Linked DNA regions of Homo sapiens: region 1 is linked to region 2. Evidence: promoter capture Hi-C in 16 types of primary human blood cells and fetal thymus (Javierre and others, 2016). All regions are on one chromosome and are shown on one strand. The core of a region is centred on a gene start or on the middle of the fragment in contact, and the rest is flanking DNA. Distances in the headings are between cores, read along the strand shown. Region 1 has its middle 28 kb from the start of CLRN3. Region 2 holds the start of PTPRE (protein tyrosine phosphatase receptor type E).

Region 1 (5,557 bases), core at 3,008-5,507, 40 kb before region 2:
GATCCATGGGGCTAACAAGCTCTTCCATGCAGAAAATTCCTCCCTCTGTCATCACCCTTTTGGCATTAGGGTCCCTTAAAAATTCATGGCTGTGTTTTTCCATTTTATTGAGTCTCCTTTGAAGGTGGCTGTTAGATTTCCTTTCTGCAGAGATTGGGTCTCAGGTAGGGGCAAGGCCTGTGCTATGCAAGCTCTTAGTGCCAATGGCTCAAACAAGTGGCCTTTGAAAAGCTTTATCAATCTTCCTCCTGACTTGGGCAGAGATCATCCCTCCTGAACCTGCATTAAATTGTCAAAAAATGATAAACAGCAGTGGGTGATTTCTGAGGGACCAGGTGGGTCTGGGCTGGCCTGCAGACCGAGGGCATATGCTGTTGACTGTCTGCCTACTGGGGCTTCTCCTCTTCATTCACCACTAGAATCTGTCCTCATCTAAAGGATAAATGTTTCCAAGTGTGGTCCGTTTATTTTCCTCATGCCCCACCACAGTAAGCTCATGCTTTTTACTCCCAAAGACTGGCTGCAGTGCAAAGTGATAGTTAAGAACAAGAAAATTCACTAGAGTTGCCCTTTGCAGATCCTTGTGAAAGATCCAATGTTTAGATCTGAAGTGAGCTCAGGGATCATAACATTCTGTCATGTGAGGAAGAAAATGGAGGCCCAAAGAGGAAGAGTCAAAGCTCAAGGATGCATGGCCAGATATTTGGAAGTCCCGCTGCCTCTTCCTCCCACCCCACTCAAGAACCACTGACTAATTCTCAGAGTCCCTAAAAACTTTCCTGCGTAGTCCACATAGTTTTGCCAGAGATGGTGAATTCCTCTTCAAAGGGTTTAATTGTGTAATGTCCTTGTCCTTGGTTCGGAGGCCCCATCTCCTTGTACTTTCTTGTTTCTAGCCTTTAAGCAGCCCTCCTGCTCTTGTTGTGCCCTGACTTGCCCAGACATGTCTGAACATGCCTTGTGCTGCAGCAGAGGGACCACTCCTGCCCCCTCCCTGCCTTACGAATCACATGTTTACCCTGTTTGGAAAAGTTTAAGTCTTAGCCAACTGGGGTCAGCTTAGATTGTGTGATCCAACTCCAGCCAATGGGGACCAGACACAGAACCAGGAACTAACCGCATTAGGGATAAAAACCCCTTCCCTCCTTTGTTTGGTGTGCTCTTGCAGTGGCCAGAATTGTGAGCGGCATACTTCTGCAGAAGTAAATTTGCCTTCTTGAGAAATCCTTTGTTTGAGTGCTCATTTTCCTTGTGACTCCGAGCTCTTGTTTCTAACAGTTTCCTTGGTGTCTTCTTTCTGTTCAAGTTCCTTATGCTCTCCTTAGGTGAAAAGAGCCTTAACCCCCAAAATGCAGAAAACTTCCGGGACCATCTTGGAAGACACCACTTGACACTAGAAATTGTGGTGAATTAACAAGGGGGAGGCCATGCTGTATGGATCACAGTTTCAGCCAACATTTGCCCCAAAATTAGTGATTTCAATGGTCTCATTTTATCCTGGTGATAACCTCTATGGTAAGAGGTGGTTTGTGTTATTGTTCTTGTAACCAAGTACCCCCATTTTTTCTAAGAGATAGTTTAATTATTCTTTCCTCTTTCTTTTTCTCTTTTCTCCTTTTCCACACTTCCTACTTCCTACTTAGCCCTTTAGAAATGCATATATAGCCTTTTTTACCTCCTTTTATTAGACACTCCCTACAGGGCAAGTTCATCTAACTATGTGCTTGGGAGCTTCAGAAGGGAACTCACCCACCAAGAAGTTGCCTCAAGAGATAACAGTAGATTTACAACTCAAAGTATGCATGCCCACGAAGACACCAGCCATCACTAGCTTGACTGCATCTACCAAGCTAACACATGGGCCCCAAAACTGCTCACTTCCCCCACTCCTGCCTCCTTGGACTCCCCGATAGCCCGCCTACCACATGCCGTTCATGTTAGGCCTCCCTTACAAGTGTTCACTTTCTTCTCCAAAAGCTAAATGGTACCCTTAGGCAGGAAGCTTATACTTATTCCCTTAAGCCAGCTTTAGAGTGAAAAAGCTACTTTCTTTATACCAGACCTCACTCTTGTTAACTGGATTCTACAAGTGATGAGCAACTGGACCAGCATTTTAGTCACATGCTCTCAGTTTTGCAGTTGAAATCAAACCCCCAGCAAGCTTTGCAATTCCAAGTTTACCCCTTTCCTATGATTCTGGCTAATGCTCTAAAACCTCCAGACCTTATGAAAAGTGAATTAATTTTCCCCATTTTCTGTTCTCTTCCTTTTTAAAAAGGAAAACGTTGAATATTGTTGCTAAATATAAAAGTAATGCATGCTAATTATGACATCATAAGAAATGCATAGTTGGTCTCTGTCCCTGGTTCCTGACACAAGCTCCTGAACTGCAAGAAATAAATTTCTGTTGGTTATTTATACTTTCCTGTGTGATAGGGGTGATAGGTGCATCTTTTGTTATAATATTTGGTCTCCGTCCTTCATTCCTAACACAAGAACTTCTAAGACCCTTGGAATCTCCAGAGTGATAAGTGTCTTTTCTCTACTAATGAGATGACTGCTGGCTGGGAGCCCATAGGGTCGCTTCGGGATAGGGGTGGGTCACCAGAAAGACCAAGGCCTGATGAGTGAATTAGGACTTTCAACCTCACCCCCAGCCTCCAGAGAGGGGAAAAGGGCTGGAGATTGACTTAATCATCAATGGCCAACGATTTAGTGATCATGCCTTCATCAATGAGGCCCCCAGAAAACCATCACATGATGGAGTTCAAAAAGCTTTCAGGTTGGTGAGCTCACCGAGGAGCTGGGAGGGTGCTGTGCCTGGAGACAGCATGGAAGCTTCTCTTTACCCTACCCCCTAGTACCTTGTCCTATGTGTCTCTGCCATTTGTTCCTAAGTTGTATCTTGGTAATAAACTGGTAATAGGGAGTAATGTGTTTCCCTTAATCTGTGAGTCATTACAGCAAATTATCAAACTAGAGGGGGGGAATGGGGGAACCTCTGATTTGCAGCCAAGATGGAGAGAAGTGTGGGTAACCTGGGGACCCACTACTTGTGATTGGTGTCTGAAGTGGGGCAGTCTTGGGAGGGTAAGCTCTTTAATTTGGGGAGTCTGCCCAGACTCCAGGTAGATAGTGTCAGAAGTGGATTAAATTGTAGGACACCCAGCTGGTGTCCCCACAGAATTGGGGAATTTGGTGTCGATAACTACACATTTGGTATTAGAAGCATTGTGTGAATATGGAGGACTTTTGTTTTAACAGGACAGTGTTAGGAAAAATTAAACCCAGTACGCCTCACCACCCAGAGGCACCTGTGTTAACAATCTCACTCCTGCCTTTTTCATACATCATATTGTACATATCATCTCCTCAAGCGTGATTTTCAGTTGCTTCGTCACATCCCATGCATGGATGTAACCACGTTCTCCACATCTCCAACTTCCATAACTGTCATTCTCCATAGAAACAGAGTAAAACATGGAAATTAGTTTCAAAGGCTTTATTAATATATAGATTCTTAGTTGCAAAATGGAGACCATCTTGGGATCTTAACCTTCCTTTGATAATATTGTTCCAATTGAGTTCTATGTTACAGCATAACAAAAACTAATTTAGAAACCTAACTGCAGGTTAGAAACAGTTCCTACTTACTATAGAAGACTGTTTACCTATTTCAATCATGTGACCATTCTCAAAACAGGTTTAGGAATTGCCTCAGAAGCCCAAGGTAGCAGCCTGAATGGAAGAAAACCTTCTTGCAGGTAGATTTATTTAGCCTTTGGAATCAGCCGATTCAGAACCAAGACTGTGACTGAGTTGTGGAATGTTACTTGGGGACAAGGCTCTCAAGGAAGGGGGCTGTTTTCCTGTGTGGCCTGGAAACTGGTTCAAACAGCAGTTCTCAAAGAGAATTCCCCAGGACAGGGGCCAGAATATCCTCCGCCTCCCACTTCCAGGACAATCGCCTAGTCGTCCTTCAAGCCTCAGTAAAAGGATCTCTTCCTCTAGGACGACTTTACTACTGACTCATCCAGATAATTCCTCCCTCCACTGGGCGCTTGTGGTACACTGTCCTTATTCCGCTACTGTCTTCATGTATTTCCACATTTCCAGCAGTCAGCATAGCAGCTCACCCAAGAAGGATGCCCATGCATTGTTGAAAGAAGGGATGGGGCCAGGAAGCTCAGCTAGGTGCTGTTACGTTCACGTAAAACTAGAATCAGCAAATTAGAAGTGGGTCATGGCCTTCTACAAATGAGTGTCTAAACAGCAGAGAAGCAAACTGAAAGAAAAAACAAGCAGCAAGAAAAGAGAGCATTTATCTAGAAAGGAAAAATCCAGAAACTAAACAAATACAGAGATCTGAGACCATTGTGTGTAGAGTCCAATAGTCCAATGGGCACACTAGTCATCTGGAAGCCACTGTCCTGGCAGAGGGTAGACCTGAGTGTTGCTGGTGACAAAGATAAATGGTCACCTTGGATCAAGATGAAGATGCAATTTAAACACAACCTAGTTTTTTTTTAAGTCTTCTGTAGTTTGAGGAGTCAATACAATTATTCCTCCCTCTTTCCTAGCCTGTTCTCCAGCATTTAAAGATAGAAACAAAGAAAATTATGGAATACATCAGTCTAAAACTAAACCTACAGGCAGGAGCCAGATCCTTTGGAGAGCATGCAACAAGCAGATTTCCTTCAAGATAAAATGAAGTATTTCATGCTACAGGGTTTTTGGGTGGCCCTCCCACTGGGAGCTTCTGCTACAACAGAACCTGGCTTGTGCATTTAAAACCTAAAAGCAGGAGGATTTACATTTGCCACACAGCTTGCTTCCAACACTACTGAACACACTTCCAGATGATGCAGGGAAAGCTCTTGAAGATTTTAAAAAAAAAAACATGTGATTACAAACTATTGTATAACTTTGAATTTTTATAAAGACATAACGGAGCCCTCACAAAACGAAAAGTTTGCCAGGCATGGTGGCTCATGCCTGTAATCCCAGCACTTCGGGAGGCTAAGGAGGGCGATCACCTGAGGTCAGGAGTTCAAGACCAGCCTAGCCAACATGGAGAAACACCACCTCTACTAAAAAATACAAAAAAAACTTAGCCAGGCATGATGTTGTGCACCTGTAATCCCAGCCACTCAGGGGGCTGAGGCAGGAGAATCACTTGAACCCAGGAGGCAGAGATTGCAGTGAGCCAAAATCATGCCACTGCACTCCACCCTGGGCAACAGAGCGAGACTCCATCTCACACACACAAAAAAAAGACAAGAAAAATTAATTCCAATTCAAAGAAAGAGTCCAGGGCTGGGCATTGTGGCTTATGCCTGTAATCTTAGCACTTTGAAAGGGCAATGAAGAAGGATAACTTGAGGCCAGGAGGTTGAAGCTGCAGTGAGCCATGATTGCACCACTGCATTCCAGCCTGGGTGACAGAGTGAGACTCTGTTGAAAAGAAGAGTCCAGAACAGTTATGGCCAACAGATGTATATTCAGCAACCTCACTCACTCTAAGAAGTCCAGCTTCAGGGAGTATATTTACAGACCA
Region 2 (5,883 bases), core at 2,997-5,496:
GCCCGGGTAACAGTAAAAGACCCCACCTCAATGAATAAATACATAAAATAAAATAAAACAACACCGAGACACATTTTAATCAAATTTCTTGAAAACAGTGATAAGGAGAAGATTTTAAAATCAACTAGAGGAAAAGGGTACATCACCAAAACTACTGATAATAAGCAATAAAGGATGAATCTCAAAAAGAGTTTGCTGCCTAAAATAAATTAGAAATGAGATACTATGTGATTCCATTTATATGAAGATACAGAGCAGGTAACACTACCTATGGTGATAGATTTCAGAATAATGGCCATCTTTGGCAAGAGTGGGGAGATTCTATTGGGGGAAGAGACATCAAATAACTTTCTACAATGATGGAAATGTTTACTGCCTTGAGATGGGTATGCATTTCACTAGTTTATACACTTGTCTTTACTCATTGGCGTATCCCTTAAGATCTGTAGAATGCGTGTGTACTCTTCATCAGTGAAAAGCAATCCAAGAAAAAAACGAAGAGTTCAAATGTGGTAAGGATCTGGGGGAGGGCCTAATTATTGTTTTTTCTGGGTGAGTAGAGGAATCTTCCAGCAAAAAGATCTGTCCTCTTGATTTCAGTAATTGTTAACACTTGGGCATAACTTGGAAAAAGAGGAGGAGAGGGAAGAATAGTTGGGTAATGTAAAAATAGATAGTTCTGAACCTATTTGTTATTCAATCTAGTACATCCTTGAGATCAGAATAACCATCCTGACTGTGGTTACTAAAAGTTACCTCTTGGTGGGAACAGGGCCTGAACAAAATCATTGAAGGACTCTGGTGTTGTCTCAGTGTATTAGTCCGTTCAGACATACCTGAGACTGGGTAATTTACAAAGGAAAGAGGTTTAATGGACTCACAGTTCCATATGGCTGGGAAGGCCTCACAATCATGGAAGAAGACAAAGGAGGAGCAAAGACACATCTTACACGGCGGCAGGCAAGAGAGCATGTTCCCTTTATAAAGAGAACTGCCCTTTATAAAACCATCGGATCTGGTGAGATTTATTCACTATCATGAGAACAGTATGGGAAAAACCTGCCCCCGTGATTCAATTGCCTCCCACAGGGTCCCTCCCACAACACATGAGGACTACGGGAACTACAATTCAAGATAAGACTTGGGTGGGGATGCTGCCAAACCATATCACTCAGTTTTTCCTTCCTTGCCCTGCCCCACAGCCAATCAATGATCAAGACCTGCTTTTTTCCTCCTAAGGTTGAATAACTTTATGAGAATGTTTCTGTATGATGTTTAAAAGCAACTTCTTATTTGCTTTCCACACATTGATTTTGCCTTTTTTTTTTTTTTTTTTTTTTTGCTTATTCTCCTAGACAGTATTCCTGGCCTCAGCATTTTAATTTTAATTGACATCTATTGGGCCCTCTAAGCATGATGGGCAGTATCTCAGTTTCTGCAGAGAAACCCAAAAGCCCAGTCCTCAAGTAAAATAGAAGACAAGACAAGTAAGTGCAGTTAATATCAATAATCGCAGGAGCACTGCCTCAAGCTGTGTTTTAGAGGGAAGGGGCTAAATGGTTGGGTGTAGGGGAGGCCTGGGGAGAGCGGGCAGGAGGCCAGCCACGGACAGGCCTGAGACAGGATCAGACAGCCAGTGTGCCAGGGAGCTGAAGAGGACTCTGTGGACTCAAGAAGGGCCCTAAAAGAGGAGTGGTGAGGTGTTCAGGAGGGCAAGAGGCAGAGGAGCTCCTCAAAGCCTGGGAGGAGGATAGGGGAATTGACTCTGATGTCAATAGGGACCTTGAGCCTATGAGAGGCAAAAATGAAGATGGTGAAGAAGGATGAAGGGCTTCCCTGTGGTAATCAACAGGGCCCTGGCACAAACACTTCTGACAACACGCTTCTGTGTGACAATGATGAATGTCTGTAGACTTTAGAAAGGGTTGAGAATTTTTGGGGTCCAGCAGAGAAGATATTATGAGGAAAGAAGAGCCATCTGCCTCCCCATCATGTTACCAAGGCTGTTCACTTTCCAATAGCAGATGTCTGACAAAGGCAAGTTGTTTCTGTCTTCTTAGCTCACAGTCTCTGCCTCCTCAGCCCTGCAGCGTTAACAAGCAAAACTGTGCTTAGCAGAGCTTTGTAATTATGGCCTTCATGTACATAAGCCTGACTCTGTAGACCACAACAGCAGAAAAATCCAAAGCCTGGTGACGTCATGTGCTACCTGGCCCCACCTCAACCTGGGCTGTTCCTTGGAGGTGCACTCAGGAGGGAGCCACCCGCCCTGCTGGGCTCCGAGGTGACCAGGCTGTCTGCTGCTGCTGGCTGGGGCCCATCCTCCTCTGCTCTGACAGCCCAGACGCCTTCACTGAGCACCTCCTGGCTACTGACGTTGCTTTAGGAGCTTGAGTCTGAGAAGCCATGGAGATCAACAGAGCCTAGGCTGCTGGAGCTTACAGCCCTGGGGGTAGGGGAAGAGGGCACGACAGACACAAAAGGAGCCAATAAACCCACAAATAATTCCAAACTGTGATGGAGGATGTGGAAGAGAGTGGCAGAAGAGATGGATGCAGGGCGATCTTCCAGAAGCCACCAGTAAGAAGGAACCAGGTGCACTGGTTGGAGGAGTCCCAGGCAGGAAGGAGCTTGGCTCTGGCACTGAGAGAAAGGAGCCGTGATTGGAGCCCAGCGGGCAGGGGTGAGAGGCTCAGAGCAGCCAGGGAAGTCAGGCAGAGCCTCGTGGGAGTTTGGGTTTTAATATTCCTGGAGGCTTTTAAGCAGGGGGCTAGCAGGACCCGGTTTACACTTTGTGAGGTGCCTGGGACCAAGTGTGAAGAATGGATCATCTGGGAGAGTGGGTCAGAAGCTGGGGAGCCACTGCAGGTTTTGGAGGGGCGCAGGCAGTGAGATGAAAGGGCAAGATGCATGGAGAAGCCAGTGGGAAGTGGACTTGGGCCCTCTGGGAGGTGGACTTGAGGTGGGACACGGAGGCAGGGACAGGGACGACTGCAGAGAAACTAAGTAAGAGCAAGAGGCAGGTCTGAGACAGCAGGAGACAGCCAGGAGGAGCTGAGCTTGGAGGAGAGGGCCCCAGAGTGGTGCTGCTTAGAGTCATTCCCATACGGATGGTGTTTAAAGCTTTGGGGCTAGACAAGGCCCCCAGGGACAGAAATGGGCAGGGCAGGGCAGGGAGGTGGAGCTCAAGTTCTCCACTGGTTTCGCAGCTCTCCGGCCCCTGTGGAGGGGAAGTCCCACTCTGGGCAAATCACGTGGGGGTGGCCTCTGCCAGGAGGCACCCATTGCTCTGCAGCCTTTGGGGTCCGTAGCTCTGTCTAAACAGGCCTTAAGTATGCTAAGAGTCGTCGGCTGGCAATCGGTGCAACGTGGGGTAACACACCGTAAGTGCCACTTTCTCCCCATCCATTCATTCATTCATAAGCCTAATGAGCTGGGTCCCTACCACAGAATGCAGCTTCCCTCATGAGGGCTGGGCCGTGGCCCCATCCAGAGGGCACGGCACAAAGGTTCAGAACCAACATGCCACCAGTGTCTTTTCTGCTCCTTCCAGGGAACTGCCTTTTCTCTGAAAGCTCCCTAAATAGCTTGAGTGAAATTCCCTGGAAGAAGTCGGCTAGACAGCAGGCCCAGTGCCTGGCTCTGTCGCTCTTCTTTCTCTTTGTGCGTTTTTAACTTTGACAGATACTGCCTTCGGGACAAGCGAGCCCTCTTCTACATCCCCCAGACAGGCGCCTTATCCCCTCCTCTTTCCAGAGGAGGCCACCAGGCCCAGCGACCTCACAGCTCTCCCAGCTTCCTCGCACCAGAAGCGCACGGGGTGCCCTGCGTGTCCCACACCTGCTGCAAGACCAGGGCGAGTCCCTAGTCAGGCCACTTCCTGGTGCACAGGGATAGGGCAGGGAGAGGCAGGGCCTTGCCTTTGCTCTCCACCAGGTGTGAGTGCCTGCCATACCCTGACCCTCTGTCTACGCACCTGGGTCCCGGCGGAGTGGCTGGACCAGGCCTCCCCGGAAGGGGCACCAGCCTTGAGTAAACGGATGCCCACAGTGTCTGGGTGCTCCCAGGGCAGGGCCGCAGGGCCTCAGGGCCATACCCGCCTCGCAGGTGGGGCGGGCGCCCTGGATGCGCTCCCCGCGCCGGGCACCAGGCGTCGCCCCCGCTCCTCGCAGCGCCCAGGCCCCCGCCCCCGCCGCGGAGCCACAGCCGGAGCTGGAGCCGAGGCGGCGGCGGGACGCGGCCGGCCGGACAAATTTCCTGCTAGGCTGCGGACAGCGGGCGGCAGGAGCCGGCGCGAGCGGCTTCAGGAACCCACGGCCTCTGCGCGTCCCCGCGACCCTTCTTCGCGCCCGGCGAAGACAGCCGGGCGCCCCGGAGGGCGGCGGGCAGGCGCCCGGGAGATGCGGAGCCTCCGCTGCAGCGCGATCTGCGCGACCAGACCGGCCCCCCCGAGGTGAGCGCGCGTGCGGACAGGGACCCTGCGCCCCTGTGGGGAACTGTGCACCCCGGGAGGCCCAAGCAGGCCGGGGCGCTGCCTCGGCCGCTGCCGCGGGAGGGAGGGGCCGCTCCGGGGCTCAGAGTCCGGACCCCGGCCCCGCCGCCCCCGCGGCGCGCCCAGTACCAGCGGCTGGGGCCCGTACGACCCCCGACCCCGGCCTGTGGCGCGTCCCCTCACCCGGAGTCCCCAGCCCAACTTGGCGACCACAGTGGCAGTGCTCACGCTCCCTCTCGGTAAACAGGAGGAGGGCGCGCGTGTCTGCGGGTGGCTACAGTGCGCGGGGGCCGGCGGCAGGGCGGCGTACGTGAAAGCGGGCGACACAGAGAGGGGGTGCAGGCCGCGCGTGGGGGGCTGCGCCCACTCGAGGCTGGAGGCTGGAGCCTTTGAAGAAAGTGGCTCGAGTTGTGCCAACTCTGGGAGGGGCCGGCGCTCTGCCAGGATGCTGCCCCGCAGCCGGGCGGGCGCCCGCGCCTTCCCAGGGAGGCAGGTGGAGCGGGATGCAGCAGCCGCCGGGGGTCGGAGATGCGGCAGGGAGACCCTGGCAGGTGGTCCAGGCTGGACTGCCGCGATTTGCAGGGTCGACGACCTCACAGGGCTCCTGAGCACAGATGCGAGCGCGGTGCCAATTCTGAGAGCTCCCGGGACCATCTGGGGAAGGCCGGGCAACCCACAGGATGGGGAGGCAGAGCCAAGCCGGATGGAGACCGCGCTGGACCTGACCTAAATTCCTTCCAGGCATGCAAACCTTTCCAGAAAGATTAGGCAATTATACTTGCAGAATTATGATATTGGTTTGTCTTGAGTCGTGACCATTCCATCAGAGTTTCAATCCAGGAAACTCAAAGAAAGAATACAGCTCTCTGCTTGTATTTTAGAGTGAATGAGCGTATAGGTGAGTTGAATGAACACCAGCAAAGAGTGATCACGTGATACAGAAATTACTGTGTCCATGTCCAGTCAGCTCTGCATTTGGCCCCAGGTACCCCTTGACCCAGGGCGTCTGGAGGTCTTTGTGTCCCAAAGATGGATGAAGTTCTGCCTCTGCACACTAACGACTCTTGTCCATTTAAACTGTGTGTATGTGGGTGGGGAGGGGGGGTGTGGAGGGTCGTTTCCAAAACTGGGATAATGGCCAGAGGAGGGCATGAAATGGTGGGGGCCAGTGGCTGGGGCAAGCGTCTGACCACCACGGTCACTCAGCCAGCATGGTATGGGCAGAGCTCTGTGGTGTGAACAGGGTTAGGGTCTGTACTTTCCAAGCACAGGCTCTTGGCATTTGGGGAGCAAAAGGTCAGAGGCGAGGTGGAGCAGGCCCAAGAGGTGGGGGCTGCGCTGTCAGTGAGAGAGGCCTGACGTACCACCCAGCCCTTCCCAGACAAGGCTCT

The links. Contacts are between HindIII fragments. The CHiCAGO score rates a contact against its expected background, and 5 or more counts as called.
Region 1: a fragment that was not itself captured here is called in contact with the fragment with the promoter of PTPRE in region 2 in 1 of 17 cell types (M2 macrophages); the score reaches 5.1 in M2 macrophages.

Annotation. Positions count from the first base shown.
Region 1 is chr10:127,862,426-127,867,982 of GRCh38, forward strand. It overlaps the pseudogene BUB1P1. Among named protein-coding and RNA genes, the nearest start is that of CLRN3, 28 kb to the right of the region's middle. RefSeq lists an enhancer at 109-1,308. The HindIII fragment of the contact is 2,842 bases long and covers 2,837-5,557 here.
Region 2 is chr10:127,902,857-127,908,739 of GRCh38, forward strand. PTPRE (protein tyrosine phosphatase receptor type E) reads left to right here and starts at 4,247. Exons shown (of 21, transcript NM_006504.6): 1 at 4,247-4,453. RefSeq lists silencers at 939-1,160, 4,091-4,210. The HindIII fragment of the contact is 4,276 bases long and covers 3,122-5,883 here.